Regions from separate parts of the Homo sapiens genome. Here all the other regions are linked to region 4. Evidence: promoter capture Hi-C in human tissues and cell types (Jung and others, 2019). All regions are on one chromosome and are shown on one strand. Each heading gives the region's core, a stretch centred on a gene start or on the middle of the fragment in contact. The rest is flanking DNA. Distances are from core to core; before and after follow the strand shown.

The links. Contacts are between HindIII fragments. The study calls those that stand out against the background at their distance.
Region 1: a fragment that was not itself captured here is called in contact with the fragment with the promoter of FOXQ1 in region 4 in 1 of the 25 tissues and cell types used here (lymphoblastoid cells).
Region 2: a contact is called between a fragment that was not itself captured here and the fragment with the promoter of FOXQ1 in region 4, in 1 of the 25 tissues and cell types used here (lymphoblastoid cells).
Region 3: a contact is called between a fragment that was not itself captured here and the fragment with the promoter of FOXQ1 in region 4, in 1 of the 25 tissues and cell types used here (IMR-90 fibroblasts).

What each region holds. Positions count from the first base shown.
Region 1 is chr6:816,554-819,745 of GRCh38, forward strand. No RefSeq gene overlaps it. Among named protein-coding and RNA genes, the nearest start is that of EXOC2, 130 kb to the left of the region's middle. The HindIII fragment of the contact is 7,865 bases long and covers 1-3,192 here.
Region 2 is chr6:943,795-947,089 of GRCh38, forward strand. No RefSeq gene overlaps it. Among named protein-coding and RNA genes, the nearest start is that of LINC01622, 160 kb to the right of the region's middle. The HindIII fragment of the contact is 3,955 bases long and covers 1-3,295 here.
Region 3 is chr6:1,021,107-1,024,313 of GRCh38, forward strand. All of the region lies in intron 1 of LINC01622 (long intergenic non-protein coding RNA 1622), which reads right to left. Among named protein-coding and RNA genes, the nearest start is that of LINC01622, 79 kb to the right of the region's middle. The HindIII fragment of the contact is 4,755 bases long and covers 1-3,207 here.
Region 4 is chr6:1,310,353-1,313,566 of GRCh38, forward strand. FOXQ1 (forkhead box Q1) reads left to right here and starts at 1,746. Exons shown (of 1, transcript NM_033260.4): 1 at 1,746-3,214. The coding sequence starts at 2,353. RefSeq lists an enhancer at 2,200-2,916. The HindIII fragment of the contact is 14,044 bases long and covers 270-3,214 here.

The DNA.
Region 1 (3,192 bases), core at 12-2,511, 490 kb before region 4:
CTTTGACATCTGGGGCCTTGCTGACCCTGGAAGGGATGGCCTCTCCCAGGGTTCACTAGTTCCTAGAGACAGTAAAGTGAGTGCACCTTTTAACTGCAAACCGACCAGCCCAGAGTCCACATTCCAGCCACCTCCTTTATAGGTTCTCACACTCCAGGCCACTATCCCTCTGCCCTAATCATCCCAGGGCCAGGTAACAGGCAGCTAGAGACAGCCGTGTGCCCAAGCCCACTGAGATTACGCAAACTGCCCAGTCCTAAAGCTGCTTGCCCGCCTCTTCTGTTCCTTCCTGCTGATACCACAATAGAGGCTCATGTCACAATTTCCCCTCACTCCGCCTCCTGCACTTCCCTGTGTGGCCCGTGTGGTGTGTTGCATGTGATGTGTGCTGCCCTCTCCCCTTCGGAACTGTGAATAACAAACTGTCTTCTCAATGACAGTCATCGAGTCATCTTCTGATCTGCTGGCCTCACCATACCTGAATAAGAATAAAACCCACATTTTAAAACCTACCTTTTTCCTGCTGCCTTCGAACACAGTCTGTCTCTGTGTGTGTGTGTGTGTGTGTGTGTGTGTGTGTGTATGTGTGTATTTCAGCTCCCAGCAAGCTTTCTAATGTATTAAAGTGAAGGTGGGGTATTGTAAAGTGTTTTTAGGTAGCTTTGATATTTTTAGGCCATCTACTTTTCTTTCATAGACTTTTCCATTTCGCTTTTAACATCTTGTCTTTATAAAGTATTTTTTAAAAACTTTATTTTGAGATAACTGTACATGCAGTTGTAAGAAATAATGCAGTTAGATCCCACATATCCTTCATCCAGTTTCCCCCAGTGGTAACATTTTGAAAAACTACGTTCAATATCACAACCAGGAAAATGACACTGGTGCAATCTGCCAACCCCACTCAGATTTCCCTGGCTCTACGTGTGTGTGTGTGTGTGTGTGTGTGTGTGTGTGTGTGTGTGTGTGTGTATGTCCATCACATGGGCAGATCCTGTGGGCACCACAGTCCAGATGCAAAGCAGAGAGCAGCTCCCCACAGGGATCCCGTGTGCTGCCCTTTTATAACCACTACCAACTTCTACCCAACCCCTCCCTAGTCCTTGGCAGCCACTAACCTGTTCTCCTTCTCCATAATTTTCTCATTCAGACATGTTAAATAAGCTGTTATATAAGTGGAATCATACGATATGCCACCTTTTGGTGTTTTTCTCCCACTCAGGATGCTTCCCTTGAGATGCCTCCAAAGTGCTGTGTATATCAGAACGTTGTTCCTTTTCATTGCTGAGTAGCGTTCCATGGTGTGGATGTGCCAGGGTGTGGACACTGTAACAGGACATTACAACAACAAATATATGGTTGTTTAAATCATACACTTGCCACCTGTATTAGTCCCAAGACTCCACATTCATTAACTCAAATATTCTTATCTCCCGTGGCTGCCATGTGACATCCCCCTGTTCCTACCCCGTCAAAGCTCTCCTGTCACTTTCAAAGAGAATCTATCTCTAAAATCGGAGGACAAACCTCTCTGTAACCTCAGGATAGTTAATCGTTTTCTGTGCACCTCATTCCTGGGGATAATTACTCATTTTCTGTGCACCTCATTCCTGGGGATAATTACTCATTTTCTGTGCACCTCATTCCTGGAGATAATTACTCATTTTCTCTTTGCTTCATTTTCCCCTTCTATATATGGAACTAGCAAGTATTTCTATTTCTAATGTTGAAAAGGTTAATGTGATCACTTGTGTTTACACAGCCTGAGACAGGTTATATAAATTATTCAGACTATGTATGTGTGAGTCACCTCTCTCCCTCAACTAGACCTAAAGCAATAGGTGATCAAAAATAGCTTCATCAGCAGAACGCCACCTTTTCCCAGCCAGGCCCTGTTCCCTGTAGCACTTAGTTCTCAGAATCCTGCCTTTCCAGGGGTCCAGGGCTTAGACTTTGTCCAGGAACAAACCGCTTGAAGTTGGCAGACAATTATTCATTATCAGCTCCTTAAGAAGGAATTAACTGGACCTGCACAGGATTGGACTTGTAACTCAATTACGACATTAATTTAAAAGGTGACTTGATAAAGGCCAGGCAGAGGCCACATGAATTCCCCTTTCTGGCTAAAATTTTGCCTGTATCCTGGACTCTGTGCTTACTACATCTTATTTTTATTCCTCTAAGTACCAAAAAAGAATGCTTATGCATTTATAGCCATCATCATAGAATTATCAGAATTTTAGACTTGTTGGAATTTCAACCAGACCAACCTCTGGATGTCCCAAGCTGAACTATTGCTGTCTGAACACTGTGGTTCCTTAGCCACAGCTTCAGGGCAATGGCATCCCTTCTGCTGGGCTCAGGGTCTCTGTACCCAGTACGATTGACCCTGCTGCCTGGGTTGTAGCAGGAATATGATTTTGAAACTTTTCCCGTTGATTTTGATGATCATGCAGGTAGGGGATCTCTGTCCTAGGGGGCACTGCAGGAAAGCCCCTTCCAAGTCTTTGCCTCCTTAAAATAAGCAGGGTCAGGAAACTATGCAAAGAGATTGAGGTTGCTTTGAGGAGCCTGGGGATGAGCTGGAGTCCTCACAGTTCGGGAAGTTGAATGCCTCAGTGGACAGGCACTATGTGGCCCAGCTGGCTCAGCTGGCTCCCAGGCAGAGCAAGCGTGAACTTGGCAATCGTTTAGCCTCTGATAGGGGGACAGTTGGCCTCTTTTTGGTCACTAGGAGGGTGTAGTCAACTAACAGAAAATCCTGCAAACCGGATCTTCCAAAGAGCTGATGCTATGTCCTGTCCAAGGCCGGTGCATACCTTGGAGTGTCAAATATGAGATAATATACTGCAGCTGAAAGGAGTATTTGTTACTCATTAAACAACACAGAAGTTCTGAGTAACCAGCTTGCTTCCCTCTGGGGACTTAGTACAGGGAGACATCTTGCTCTGTAGAAAATCAGAGCAAGATGCCTGCCTTTTGCAGTAATGGCTATAGCAAATTACCATGGGTTTGAATGACACTAGTAGAGTGCTGATTACTAGACAATTAAAAACAAGGAAAGGGAATGCTATTATAAAAGAGGAAACATTTTGTGGACCTTGAAGTAGAAGTAACGCTAGTTTGTAAGGCTCTCTAGTCTGCTTGTTATTTGGTGCCATATTCCATACACCTGGTTTGTTTCTAAAAATC
Region 2 (3,295 bases), core at 223-2,722, 370 kb before region 4:
GCAGGTGGGTAACTTCTGCAATTTAAAAGTAGAGTTCATTAAACTTGAAATCAATTGAATGGTATTGATATTTATTTTTAAAAAACAATATTTATAAAATCCAAACTATAGTACATTAAAAAATATCCATGCATTTCATGTAGTAAGATTAAATGCTTTTTAATGAAATACTTGTTCCAGTTTATATAGGCAAGGCCTCTGGGCATGTCTGCTGAGCTGCATTTAAAATATACTGGTGACTGGGCTGGGCATGGTGGCTCACACCTGTAATCTCAGCACTTTGGGAGGCCAAGGCAGGTGGATCATGAGGTCAGGAGATCAAGACCATCCTGCCTAATACGGTGAAACCCCATCTGTACTAAAAATACAAAAAAAATTAGCTGGGCGTGGTGGTGGGTGCCTGTAGTCCCAGATACTCAGGAGGCTGAGGCAGGAGAATGTCGTGAACTCAGGAGGCGGATCTTGCAGTGAGCTGAGATCATGCCACTGCACTCCAGCCTGGGTGACAGTGTGAGACGCCTTCCCCACCCCCCAAAAAAGTATTGGTGACCATGGGGGATTTCAGTCAAAAAATGTTGAAAGCCACTCCTCTGAGCATATGTTGAGAACCTACTGTGATCCAGGCTCTGTGGCAAGATCAAAGGCCTTAAAAGCTCAGCTGTGCTTTCGAGCAAGCTCAGTGGGCATAAGGAAATGACAAGGAAATGTCAAGTATCCTCTCAGGAAAAGAAGAAAGCATGACAGAGGCACAAGGGTTGATATGATGGGCCTCCTTGGCAGGATTGGGAAAGGAAAGGTCCCTGGGAATGGGTTTTCTGAGCTGGGCAATTCAAGATGGAGAGGAATGGTAGGACAACTCCAGAAAAATATTTACATTACATAGTGAATATGTAGTTTATATATTGACTTTGCCACACTCCAGACATTCTGGTTACATTTGAACTTTCTTTAGGGCACCTGATCTTACACCAGTTTCCTTTGGATTGACTTCCAGGATCATCTCCTGAAGTCCCAAGAGCTAGAGCTGTCCAGGAATTAAGTTGGTGCCTGTGATATCATAAAGACATATTCTTTGGACCATAATAGATTTTTCTTATAAACGTCAAATATCTCCTTGTACTTAAAGAAATTTAAACAATTGTCTTCCACAAACCTAGTTTTCCTTGCCATTTAATGTTTGCAGTGATATTAAGAACCATTCTCTGACTGAAGTAATGTGGTGATACCATAGTCTTTGCTTCCAAATAAATATGTTACCAAAAAACTACTTCTGTTTCACAACCAGTATTACTCAGTCCTTAAACCTGTCAAGCACAGTGTCATTAGTCTTCTGTACTGCTATAAGCTTTGTTTTGCATGTCATCCTAATAGAAGAAACCCTCAGGCAGTATTTAAGGCTATTACTGTTGATTAAGTTCTGTAGAAGTGGATGTGGATGTGAATGCAAAAATTGGAGCTGTCAGATTGAGAGCGATTACCATGGGTAGGGCCTATTGGTATGGTTCAAAAGATGTATACTATTACACCAAAGACATGGACTGAAGGTTACCATCCTCAGAAAGTGAATACTCATCTATCTACTCTCAAATGGATGAATGGCAATTTCTAGCAGGTAAAATGTTGTCTTTGGTATACCTCAAAGTATTGCTTCTTCAAAGCAAAACAAACAACTTCAAGACTTAAGGGGATTTTGTATATTCATAGATAAATTAGTCTATAAGATTGCATAAAATATATACATTATCTTAAAATAGCTATTTATAATCTGACTCTCTGAACTGTGACTACTTTATACAGGCTTTCTTCCAACTGATTGTCACTGTGGTATGATTTTGACATTTGATTTTAGTCAAAAGGTGTTTTTGGGGGGCTGTGAACTTCTCCACAAGTTTTTGTCATGAAACATGCCTAACAAAGAGAATGGCTGTTAAAAGAATGGCACAATGAATACCAAGTTAACTTTCATTCAGATTCATATTTAGCTATCTATGTATACACACAGATATATATGTATAAATACATGTAAATGTGTAAATATATAAATATAACATGATCAAAATATATTTATTATATAAAATATATTTTTAAAATAACATAAATAAAATATTTAAATACAAATATGATTATAAAGTGTTAAATTATAAATATATATGGCCACATGTTTTAAAATAAATTTAGCCATCGTGATATTTCACCCCTAATTATACTAGCATTTGTTTTAAAAGAACAACATCCTATATAACTGTGATACCATTATTATATCTAAGAAAACAATAATTCCATAGAAATAATTTCATAATATCTAGCACGCAGTACATACTCAAATTTCTGCAAGTGTTTCAATAATGTTTTTTATAATAATTGTTTATTTCTTAAACCAGGATCCAATCAAGTGTCACACATTGCAATTTGTTGTTATGTCTCTTTAGCCTTTGTTTCAAATTGTCAGCACTGTCCACATATGCAATTTTAAATCTTCTAATAACCACATTAAAAAGGAAAAAGAAACAGTTGAAATTAATTTCAAGCCTATATTGCTTTAATGCAGCCTCTCTAAAACTTGATGATTTTAACATGTAATCAAAATAAACATATTAATAAAAGATTGTACATTCTTTTTTTTTTCATGATAAATCTTCAGAATCTGGCACATTTGACCTTTGCCGTGGATGTCAGTGAGGACCAGCTGTGTTTGCCTCTTAACAGCCACCCACGGCTGGTGGTAATGCGAATCTTCCCAGCTTCTTATTTTCATGATAGGATCCCTCAGCTTTTAAAGAGTGCTATTTTTCTGCATTTTACTTTTCAAACCAAATTCAAGGAAGAAAAGTAATGTTCTTATTAGAGAAATAAACAACACACTTTAATTTCAAGATTTGAGGAAGCTTTTCCTGGCTCCAGGCTATTAATAACAGTACGTTCTCAGGGTGCAGCATTTTTTACTTCAGTATCATCAGACGCTTCACTACACATTTGCTATTTTAGATTGCTGCATGAGATCATGGCAAACAAATGGAAAACAGTCTTGCTGCTTTCCAAAATCTAAGCCTTAAATAGGCACGGTAAGAAAATAGAAATTTTATTAAGTAATTGATAGTTTTTAAAGAACTGTAAATTAGGAAACCTGAAGTTTCATTTAAAACTTACTAAATGAACAGTTTTTTAAACTTGGAACACTCCTTATAATAGAAGGAGCACATTGATAAACTGCTGTTGGCATTCATTTATTCTTTTATTCATTCAGCGTTTCATTGTTGAGAAACTGTTCAAGGCACTAGAGATAAACCAGTGAATG
Region 3 (3,207 bases), core at 212-2,711, 290 kb before region 4:
AAGCCTTCTGTGTCACACACAATCTAGGAATGGGATGAGTTGCCACCAGAACCCAGGCACCATGCTTACTTCTTTGTAGTAGTTAATGCAAAATGCAGTGACTTATCTTTCACTGTGGAGCAAAATCCTCGCACTCCTTAATTTCTGGCCCCTAAAATCTTCACTGGAGTGGTCAACTCCCGAGTCTTTGCAGGGTTTACCCCCTACCTGCAGCATCACATGTGTCTTCCTTACTCTCTCAGTGCATGAGCCCCCTCTTGTTTCTTTCGTTCAGTCTGCATGAAGTCATTGATCATTACAGTATTCTACAGTTAGGCCAAGCAGTCCAGGACTGCTCATGCTGTGCCTAGTGTTGGTTCGTGGGTTCGTGGTCTCATCTTGCTGACTTCAAGAATGAAGCAGCAGACCTTCACGGTGAGTGTTACAGCTCTTAAAGAAGGCATGGACCCAAAGAGAGAGCAGTAGCAAGATTTATTGTGAAGAGTGAAAAAACAAAGCTTCCACAGGTGGAAAGGAACCTGAGTGTTGCCACTGCGGCTGGGGTGGCCAGCTTTTATTCCCTTATTTGTCTCTGCCCATCTTCTGTTTTTGTCCTATCAGAGTGCCCTTTTTTCAATCTTCCCTGTGATTGGCTACTTTTAGACTCCTGCTGATTGGTCCATTTTACAGAGCACTGATTGGTGCATTTTACAAACCTCTTGCTAGCTACAGAGCACTGATTGGTGCGTTTTTACAGAGTGCTGATTGGTGCATTTTACAATCCCTTTGTAAGACAGAAAAGTTCTCCAAGTCCCCACTGGACCCAGGAAGTCCAGCTGGCTTCACGTCTCAATGCCAAGAGGCACAGAGTTCATACAGCACTGTGGTTAAATTAGCAGTGCATATCATCAGTCCTATGTGAGCTGTTTCTGGTCCTCTTTTCCAAATGGAATGGTCGAGCATGCACTGGCAAACTAAGAGGCACATGCCCCGTTCTTGGTGCTTTGCTAATCTGCTCTAATGGTGTGATCTGGGCTACTGCTAGGTTAAGTCTGGTAGTAGTGGTAGTCGACATTCGTTCTCTGGGATCCATAGAGTTTCTGCAGGGGCCAGCCTGACAATTCGATGGAGCAGTGATCGGTACCAACACTGTGCACCCTTTAGGTCCTTAATGGTGGACTTCAGTCTGCCTTTCTTTCCCATCTCCTGCCAAGATTCAGCGAGGTTGAGGGGGCAGCTTCGGGGGTTTTCACCTTTTCCAATTGGCCTTTCCCACTATGATAGCTCTTATCCCACAAACCAAGAACCCTAATGTGGGCGTAGTTCCACCTGCTCTGTAGCTCTTGTCTAACAGTCCACTGAAGAACTGGGAAAGACCACTGCTGAAGCCACAGACCCAGCAGGCCCACTGCGAGCTGGACAACAGCCAGATCCAGTAATGACTTGGCCCCCAGGTCCCCTACTCTACCGGGAAAGCCAAGATGACTCTGTGGAATCTCTAGGTATCCCTGGAAATTCAGACCTTGTGTCCAATAGTCTTTGAAATGTCAGGTAATTCCCCCTACCCAGATTAAAGTCACATGAGTAAATGGCCTTAGGTGCCCTTGAGGAAGGACTGGGGGAATGCTCATATGCTGGCCACCATGCTGCAGGAATCTGTATTTGCAGGACAAGCCAGCTCTTCAGTCAATGGGTTTCAAGTCTGAAATTGGGTATGCCTGGGGACTGAGCAGGAGGCTTTGTCTTGGTTGCGGAGAGGCAGTCCTCAGCCTGCCGCTTCTTCCTTCTTTACCATTACTATTACAGGCATGGGGTGGCACCCTTGTGGGCCTATCTGAGGCTAAGAACAATCTGCTGTATCAGCCATCCCCAAACTCCCTGCAGCTCAGGCCCCCTTGGCCACCCCTCCAACCTTCCTATTCATCATTGTTGTGGCCTCTGGTTTCTAGCCCCCATTACTTTGGGGCCCCATCATCCCCAAAAAGACCCAGTCTTCCAAGAGCCACCCCAGGAGCTTTGCTTCATTTCTTGACATCCTGTCTACAATGTTAAATCTTATATTCTGAAAAAAATTACTTCTAACTATTGCTTATCTGATTTACAGTCTGATCAAACACCCTCAAAATCCAATCCCAGGCATACTCCCTTAGCTCCCATGTGGACACATGCCAGCTGGCCTTTCCATTATTGGGATGAAAAGTCTTTTCCTCCCCTCTCAAGCCCAGCATATTCTCAGCTGGGTTCTGTTGGGATTGAAGCCTAGCTGTGCCCTGGCCTCCTAGAGGGGAGGATGCCTGTTGCTTGTTGGGGAAGCTTCTGCGCTTGTACTAGGATATGGCGGGGCCACCTCTGCAATTTCAGAGGACTCACAGGGACTGTAGAGTCAGCGTCCACAGGGAACGCCATGCAGAGGTTTCCCCACCAAGGTTCTGCCTCACAGATCACAGAAATGCCTGGACTGAGCACCCACACATCTCCAGAGCTCTGACACTTTCACAAGTACCTGCTGCTCAACTGCATCTGCCCACCCATGCCAGGTGATGAGGGTCCCTTCAGAAGCTATCCTTGAAGCTCTCTGGCTCTCACACTTGACCATTAACTGCTAGTTAATACATCCCAGACTCCTTTTCCTTCTGCAGTACATGAATTCAGCTTTGCAATAACCAGTCAACTGTGCTGTCTTGTAGACATTGTTCCCCCAATATTTTCCAAATGCTTCCATCATTGCACCTGTCTCTGCATTATCCTCCACTGAGCGGTGTTTCAAGGCCCACCTCAGTGAAATCTTTAGCAATCGAGCTGCCATCCCTTATCAAGGAGGACATGAGTCTCTGCCCTTCCACCAGTCATCATGGAGACCTTTCTACCTGCTAGCTAATTCACGATCTAGACCGAAACCCATATTTTGTCACCTTTTTTCTCTGACCACTCTTGGTACCACTCCTGTGAGTCTGGGTCTTCTGAGAAGCAGAAGTCTGCAAAGATTCTAGTGGGAGAAAGGCCTGCATGAGAGAAAGTGGAGAGGGCTAAGAGGCAGGCCTCCCCACCATGCAGGTATGAGCCCCAAGATAAGGTCAGCGAGACTGAAGGTTGGGTGGAAAGTCCCAGATCTGTACCCTCTAAGGAGGGCCCTATAGGCTGCTGTGGGTCCTCACCAAAGCCAGCACTCACAGCAGCCCGTCTCTCCTTGTTGGCTGGCTGCTGTGGGGAGCATGGTTTTGACCCAGG
Region 4 (3,214 bases), core at 496-2,995:
TTTACCTTCCCCATCAAATAGTCATGTGCCCTCCTGCCCTGCCCAACCCCAGAGTTCAAGAGAGAAAAACATTCATTACGAACGCCTTTTATCCCTGGCCAAATCCAAGCCTCTTTACCTCGCTATATATATATAGATATACATATTTGTCTCATCCCACTTCCCTCTCCAGGTCTAGTGAACCATCAACTCCAAGGCTAGAGCTGAGCAGACCCCTCCAGAAAGGCTCATCTCCCAAAAAGCAGCCATTCCCCACCTGGCTCCCGAGGCGCATACTTAATAAAGTCAGTCTAATCTCCGAACGCGATCCTTCCCCAAATACAAAAATAACAGAGCTGTGGCTGGGGCTGTCATGTTGCCCGCCCCATTGTGAATGGCTTCAAAACTCCCTGAATAAAGATAAGAGAGGATTGTGTACGTTTTCAACACAAATGGTGGAAAGTAATAAAATAAACATCAAAGGTGAGCTCCCACCTACTAGCGGCTCCGTCGCTTTTTGTGCAACAAAGGCAGGAAAAAGGAGGAAACTCGGCGTGGCAGGGCAGCGGGCTGGAAGTGCACCTTCCCGGGGCCGAGGCGCCCGCTCCCTGGACTAATGACGCCGCGTGGGGATCACGCCCCGGGCGCCCTGGGGTGAGGAACGGTCCCCCCTTTCGAGATTGTCCGACACTGGTGCCAGTGAGGTCACAGCAAAAGTCCCAAAGGAATATTGGAAAGAAATGGCCGTGAACCGGTTTGTTCTTGCCCCCGCCCCCGGGAACACGCCCTCTCCGTCGTTCCTGTTGACTGTCAGATCCCGGGAACCAAGCGGCGGAGCTCGGCGGCATCTGAGGCTTCCGCAGGGACACAAGTGCAGGCACAGCCCAGCACCCTGCGCCAGACACAGCCGCCCCAGGGGAAGAGGAGGACGCTGCTGTCCTCCCGCAGGAGTCACCAGCCAGGTAAAGAAAAAGGTAAAGTAAGACAAAGAAAAGTGAAAGTCGGAGCCCATTTAGTGAGCAAGAGTAAAGGTCATCCAAAAAGGCGCATACAATTTCAAGCCCAGGAGTGCATTCATTAAAACAAGAGGAAAAGACAAGATGGTCCTTGAAAGGAGCTCATAGGAAGGGGCACAGCACAAGGCTCCCGAAAGAGGTCACTGCAAGTGTCCTGCGCAATTTCTGTTCAGCACCTCTGCAGTGACGACAGGGGTTTGCTTTCGTAAGCAGCATCGTTTTCACTACTACAGAAGCACATACGCCGCGTGCAGCTTAGGCCCGAGCAAAGTCCCTGCTCCCCTAGACCCAGTCCCTTCAGGTGTCCCCCTAGGGGAACTGTGGCGTGTCCCCCCAACCAGGCGCACTCGCCTAAACTGCGTCCCCGAACTCCAGGGCGCAGGGAGCCCTCGCGGGCTGCCCGGGGCTGGGGCCCACACCTGAACGGAGGAGCCGGCTGGCGGAGCGGCCCCGCGCGCGCACACACGCACACTCACAGACACGCGCAAACCCACAGCGGCGCGCGCGCTCCCCATTGGCGGGAGGAGGAAGGCGGGGCCGGCCGACCCAAAACAAACAACCTGCGCCAGCGACTTTGCCGCCGCGCTGCAGTGTGGCCTCCGCCTGGTGCGCGCCCGTTGGGGAGCTGGGGAACTGGGGAGCCGCCACCACCTCGGCCACCTCGTTCCCCCACCCCTTGCCGTCCGCGCTCAGGCCCCGCCCCCGCGGAGCCGCCGCAGGGTTATATTGGGCCGGCCCGAAGGTGGAGGCGAGACGCAGCCGCGGCAGGCCAGCGGGGAGATGCTGCCCCGGAGGCTGGGAGCGGGAAGGCGGCTGCGGGCGCAGCGGCCTCGGGGACTCGCCTCCGCGGGTGCTCAAGGCTGAAGGCGCCGGACCTTCCCCCACGGTGGCACGCACATCATCCGGCACCATTTCCGTGCCCCGAAGACGCCCGCGCGGGACCTGGGACCGCCAGTGAAGAACCCCTCCTGGGCTCTTTAACGAGCAGCAGATGCGCATGCTGCTTCTCTCCGGCAGGAAAGCCTTCTAAGCCCGGCGTGCTCGGGCACCCGAGGGTGGAACCGCGGCCCCTGCACACACTCACCCCAAAGTCTCAACGTCGAACCGAAGGCGACACCCACCCAACTCCTCCCTCTCCGCCCCATAGTCCACCCAACACTTGCAGCCCCTCCAGAGAAAAAGCCCAGCGGAAGAGGACTCCGGAAAAGTGACTATCTCGGAAGACCAGGGTAGAGCTCCCGGGAGAAAAAGGCGAAGATCCCCGGCCCCGGATCGCCATCCCCTTCCCTGGCACCAGCTTCTCTAGGCTGCGCGAAGGAAGAGGGTACGACGCCGGGGAGGGACTGGGTGCGCGGGCATGAAGTTGGAGGTGTTCGTCCCTCGCGCGGCCCACGGGGACAAGCAGGGCAGTGACCTGGAGGGCGCGGGCGGCAGCGACGCGCCGTCCCCGCTGTCGGCGGCGGGAGACGACTCCCTGGGCTCAGATGGGGACTGCGCGGCCAACAGCCCGGCCGCGGGCGGCGGCGCCAGAGATACGCAGGGCGACGGCGAACAGAGTGCGGGAGGCGGGCCGGGCGCGGAGGAGGCGATCCCGGCAGCAGCTGCTGCAGCGGTGGTGGCGGAGGGCGCGGAGGCCGGGGCGGCGGGGCCAGGCGCGGGCGGCGCGGGGAGCGGCGAGGGTGCACGCAGCAAGCCATATACGCGGCGGCCCAAGCCCCCCTACTCGTACATCGCGCTCATCGCCATGGCCATCCGCGACTCGGCGGGCGGGCGCTTGACGCTGGCGGAGATCAACGAGTACCTCATGGGCAAGTTCCCCTTTTTCCGCGGCAGCTACACGGGCTGGCGCAACTCCGTGCGCCACAACCTTTCGCTCAACGACTGCTTCGTCAAGGTGCTGCGCGACCCCTCGCGGCCCTGGGGCAAGGACAACTACTGGATGCTCAACCCCAACAGCGAGTACACCTTCGCCGACGGGGTCTTCCGCCGCCGCCGCAAGCGCCTCAGCCACCGCGCGCCGGTCCCCGCGCCCGGGCTGCGGCCCGAGGAGGCCCCGGGCCTCCCCGCCGCCCCGCCGCCCGCGCCCGCCGCCCCGGCCTCGCCCCGCATGCGCTCGCCCGCCCGCCAGGAGGAGCGCGCCAGCCCCGCGGGCAAGTTCTCCAGCTCCTTCGCCATCGACAGCATCCTGCGCAAGCCCTTCCGCAGCCGCCGCCTCAGGG